Regions from separate parts of the Homo sapiens genome. Here region 1 is linked to region 2. The links are contacts of gene promoters, found by promoter capture Hi-C in blood cells and fetal thymus (Javierre and others, 2016). All regions are on one chromosome and are shown on one strand. Each heading gives the region's core, a stretch centred on a gene start or on the middle of the fragment in contact. The rest is flanking DNA. Distances are from core to core; before and after follow the strand shown.

Evidence for each region. The method cuts DNA at HindIII sites, captures the fragments that hold promoters and counts their contacts. A CHiCAGO score of 5 or more calls a contact.
Region 1: a contact is called between a fragment that was not itself captured here and the fragment with the promoter of ANKAR in region 2, in 2 of 17 cell types (non-activated CD4 T cells and monocytes). The highest score is 6.2, in non-activated CD4 T cells.

The regions. Positions count from the first base shown.
Region 1 is chr2:189,444,148-189,446,847 of GRCh38, reverse strand. The region is part of intron 1 of WDR75 (WD repeat domain 75); the gene reads right to left. Among named protein-coding and RNA genes, the nearest start is that of WDR75, 4.0 kb to the right of the region's middle. The HindIII fragment of the contact is 711 bases long and covers 1,032-1,742 here.
Region 2 is chr2:189,673,304-189,676,003 of GRCh38, reverse strand. ANKAR (ankyrin and armadillo repeat containing) reads right to left here and starts at 1,334. Exons shown (of 23, transcript NM_001378068.1): 1 at 1,174-1,334. It overlaps LOC105373793 (a long non-coding RNA gene), which reads left to right and starts at 1,719. Exons shown (of 2, transcript XR_923692.3): 1 at 1,719-2,173; 2 at 2,611-2,700. RefSeq lists an enhancer at 949-1,208 and a silencer at 1,259-1,678. The HindIII fragment of the contact is 6,953 bases long and covers 28-2,700 here.

The sequences.
Region 1 (2,700 bases), core at 138-2,637, 230 kb after region 2:
ACATATTGTTATAATTGTTCTATTTTATTAGTTATTGATGTTAATCTCTGTGCCTGATTTATAACTTAAACTTTATCATAGGTATGTATGTATAGGAAAACATTTACTATATAGAGTGTCTGGTATTACCTGTGGTTCTAGGCATCCACTGAGGGTCCTGGAACATATCCTCTGTGGACAAGGGAGAGCTACTGTATTACAACACACTAAATTTGTTGCAAACTGGGACCACTACTATCCTATTTTATTAGTTCAAGACACTTGATTTTCACTTGTTCATCTCTTTGAAATTAGAATGCATCTTATAATCAATGGTCTCTTGTAAGTGCTGTCAGCCAGGAGGCATGGTTGTATGAAATGGTATAAGATCAAGAATGTATGAGCAACAAAGCATTTGCGATATATAACCTGCCCTTTGGCTGGAGCCTCTTCTCCATTCCCATGAGTACTTCAGTTCAGAAGCTTAACATCTCCAGCCTGGGCCACTCTTCAGGGCTTCCTACAGTCTCCAGGTACAGTCCTTCAATGCAGCTTTCACAGTCACACCAGACTAATTTTGCAAATTTGACCATATTACTTGCTCAGATAAAGCTAAAATCCTTCACTGTTTTCCCTCTGACTTTAGGAAATGATCTAAATTCTTAAGGCTTTGGTAGTCTGATCCCAGTCTAACTTGAACTACTTTTTCACTTAACACTGTGCTCTATTAAAATAGTTCATAACTCCAACAATTTCCCCCATCCCCCAGACACACCCTATCAATATGAAGAGGTCCTTTAGATATGGCTTCCTTGAGACAGTGGTGGGTAGGGGGCTACTGTTGGCCAAGAAAACTTTCCCTAATTGATTCTGATAAGCTTCCTCAGAAAAAAGGAATATCCTCTCTTCTTGTTTCTCAGCATAGAACAATGGCTTCAATTACTTAAACGCAACCCTTCAAAGTCAACTTTCTCTCCATGGTTTTGCACTCTCTGCTATCTACATAGAACACGTTTTCTAATTACTTCTTTTTTATTTCCTAAGAGTAAGCTTATTTTTTAACTTTTAATTTTGAAATAATTTTAGATTTACAGAAGAATTACAGAGTTCCTGCATACGCTTCACCTAGCTTCCACAAATGTTAGCACTTTACATAAGCACAGCATGTTAGTCAAAACTAAGATATTAACACTGGTACATGACTATTGACTACATAATTTATTTGGAGCTCTTCACTTTTTCCATTAATGTCTTTTTTATGTTCCTAGACCCCAGTCCAGCATACCACCTTAGTTGTCATATCTTCTCAGAACCTTCCAATCAGTGACAGTTTTTCAGTCTTTCCCATTTCTCAGAACTCTTGACTACTGCTTTAAGATTCAGCTCAGAATTTTCTCCCGGAAGCCCTTCCTCATCTTCTCATTCTAGATCAGCACCCGTCCTAATGTGCTTCTACACGACGGTGGGCTTAGCTCCATCACAGAACTTACCACAAGGCATTAAGACTGTCTGTGTACTATGTTTCTCCTCTACCAGACTGTGAGTCTTTGAGGTGAGACACTGTGTTTTCACTTATTAGAAACAATAATAAGTCAAACACAAATGGATTCGAATGTCAGCTTTATTATGTATTAGCTGAATGATGTTGGAGAATTTACTTAACCTCTTTAAACTTCACATCTCCACTTACAGTTAGCCACTGTAAAATGTAAATAACACGTTCTCATAGAGTTTAAGTGAAACATTGCATGCAAATACAAGCTTAGCATACACAGCAAGCACTCACTCAATAGGGATAATACCTTAACCTTGTAGACTGGAAGGTGTGTAATGCACCCACCACAACACCTGTCACATAGGATTCATCTTTGTTGAGAAAGTGAAGAAGTAAGAAATTAGGGATGTTTCAAGTCGGAACCAAGATTTAAACTAGACTCTGAAGGATGTATGATTTAAGGGGTGGGAAGAAAAAATAGCAACATAAGCAAGAGCAAGGAAATGGTATGATTATATACAAGACACAGATAATGTACTTATCTGACAAGCAAAGTGTCTATAATGGGTAGTATCAGGAAACAGTTGGGTAGGAAGAGTTGAGCTATATCAGAGAAGGGATTGAAAGCCATATAGAGGAGCTATAGTTAAGGAGGCAACAAAAAACTGTTAAAAAGTTCAGAGCAAGACTAGAAATAAGAGTTAGAGTAATAATGTTATAACAGTAACAACTTAGGAAAATTGTTACAGCAGCAATACTCAGAATGATCTGTAAGGGAAAAATACTGAGTTTGGGACATTAGCTTGTGGGCAATTTAGGAAAGTGAAAGGCAAGGATGACTCATTGTTTCAGTTTTCTCTACCCTAACAACCCCAGTGCAATAATTCACAGCACCATATAACTGTGGGATGCCGCAGAATGGGATGCAAACAGAACTGGACTGAGAGTCAGTAATATCTAATATGGGAACACCAGGAACTTACATGTATACCCACATGCCCCTCAGAACAACCTACTCAAGTACCTAGAACAGAGTTTTTGTTCTAGTTTCAAGAGGAAGCCGCCAAAATTCCACAAGTCTGTCTTTTTATGATTTTGGCTTTCTTGATAAGCACCTTGAGGTAAAATACAAAATTATTCCTCTTTGTATAAGGCAGCCAATCCCTTGTGGTACCTTGTAGATAATATTCAAATCTTTGCTGAGTTCATTAAAATCCTGTCATTTG
Region 2 (2,700 bases), core at 85-2,584:
CTGCTCAGCTTCTTGTGAGACCAAGCTTACAATCATGGCGGAAGGGGAAGGGGAGCCAGTGTGTCACATGGTAAGAGACGGAACAATAGAGAGAAAGGGGAGGTGTCTACTCTTAAACAACCAGATCTTTCATGAGCTCAGAGGTAGAGTTCACTCTGCCAGGAAAGCACCAAGCCATTCATGAGGGATCCACCCCCATAATCCAAACACCTCGCACCAAGCCCTACCTCCAACATTGGGGAATCTATTTTAACATGAGATTTGGAGGGGATAAATATCCAAATCATATGGATATTTATTTTGTTTTCAGTTTTTTAAAGCAAGACTATACTGACCTGCATGAAAGAAAAGAAAAGGGTGGGGCGCAGTGGCTCATGCGTGTAATCCCAGCACTTTGGGAGGCCAAGTCGGGCAGATCAACTGATGTCAGGAGTTCGAGAACAGCCTGACAAACATGGAGAAACTCCGTCTCTACTAAAAATACAAAATTAGCCAAACGTGGTCGTACATGCCTGTAATCTCAGCTACTCGCGGGGCTTGAGACAGGAGGCTGAACCCAGGAGGCGGAGGTTGCGGTGGCCTGGGCAACAAGTGTGAAAAACACTGTTTCAAAAAAAGAAAAAAAAAAGAAAAAGAAAAGGAAAGAAGCATTTGCTTAACCTTCAATTTCTGTGCCAATGAATGCCTGTCTATTCCTGAAATAATAATAACCACAACTACTATTTATTGAGCCAGGTTCTTTACTATATAATGGTTTGATTTATTTCATCTGATTGGTCTCTATTATATAGTGGTTCTCAAAATTTAGCTTGTATCAAAATCACCTGGGGCTTGTTCAAATACAAATCGCTGAATCCCACCACTGAGTTTCTGATTCAATGAGCTGTAGTGGGGCCAGAAAATATGCGTTTTAGTAAAGTTACAGGAAATGCTGATAGTGCTGGTTTGGGCGCCACACCTGAGACCCCAGGTCAGTGAGTCAGACCTTGTTATGCCCACTTTATAGAGGCAAAAACGGAGACCAGGAGGTTGCAGGACAAGTCTGAGGTTTTACGCCTTTCAGAAACAGAACCCACGTCTGTCCAGTCAAGCCCGGGACCCACGTCCAAAAGCAGCTCGCGTCAGCCATGGGCACGGGAAAGGGGAAAAAACAAGGAAAGGGGAGGAACCTACTCTAGAATGGCTGTTTTCTTGTCCGGGAGAGGGACGCTGCGTCCGCGGCGTTCCCGTGGGGCTGAGAACAGTCGTCGCCGCCTCAGATGGCTTCTCGCGGGGCCTTGAATCCGCCCTCAGGGCCTCCGCAAGGGCGAGCGGGAGGCGCACCGGAAGGAACTGAGAGGAACTTTCAGGGCTTTTCGCCCCACCGTGGCGGCCCGGCCCTCCTCGCCTCGCCGGCCAACACTGCCGCCGCCCGGGCGCGGGTCGAAGCGGTTGGTCCTCCGGGCCCTGGGGTGGCTGGGCTGCTCCTCGGGCGGAGCCTGCGGGCGACTAGGCCTGGTGCGTCCCGCAGCAGCCGCAGCGCCCCCAGGCGGCGCCCGGCCCCTTGGCTGGCTCAGACCCCCCGCGTGCGCATCATCCCAAGCCCGCTTAGCGCTTAGTCCAGCGGCATGCCGTGGGCACTGTGCCGCCCTCACTATCTGCCTCTGCTAAAACACCGAAACAGAGTAGCAGAGGAGACAGCGCCGGGCGTTGAGGCAGTCCCGAGTTGGAATACCACCTCCATCATCATTCTTTCATTCAACAAGCATTTATGGAACACCTATTATGAGTCAGGCACCCAGCTACAAGCTGGAAACCCTAGAAAACAGGGCAGACACGAAACCCCAAGGAGCTTACAGTTGAACAGATCATCTCACAGCTATATTTAACAGTGTGCCAATATTAGATGGAATGACAGCACTCGAATGAAAGCTAACCTAGCCCAGGGCTAGGAAAGGCTGCCTAAGGAAGTGCCCTTTTCCCCTCCGAGCCTAGAAGATGGAAAAGAGCTACCCAAGCAAAGGACTGGACAAGTAGCTTTTCAGGAACAGGGAACAGCAGGAGAGAAAGAATTGAAGTGAGAACAAAGTTGAAATGGTTGAGAAACCGCAAAACCCTGCTTAGAGAACAAGAGAGATGTGGGCACAAACCGAGCTGCTGAGGTGCGCGATGGACAGATCATGCAGGCTGCTGAGTAATGATTTTGAATTTCATCCCAAAGGATTAGCCTACAGTAGTGGCAGTGGAGGTGGGGCTCAGGGACTGTGGACAGATTTGAAAAATAATGAGGTTGCCTGTTGGTGACAGATTGGGGATATGTTGAAAAAGAAGGTTGTGTCCAAGTCAGAACCACATTTCTGTCAGGAGCAACAGGATATCAGGGCAAGATTAAGAGTTCAGTTATGTACTAATTGACCTTGAAGTACCTGTGAGAGAAATTGAGATGTGAGATATGCTTTAGATAAACAGTTCTGGGCTAAGAATGGCAGTAGGGGTTAGATGTATAAATTTTGGCAGATTTATAGTAATTGAAGCCAGGAGTGGGGTTGAAATCACCAAGGGAGAGCGTGCAGAATGAGGAGTTGAGAACCAAGGATTAGAGACCTGAGAAATTTAACATTTAAACGTCAGGTAGAGAGAGTGAAGTCAGCAAAGAAGACAAAAAGAACAGCCAAGAAGGCAGGAGGAAAACCAAAATTGGTCACAGAAGCCAAAGAAGTG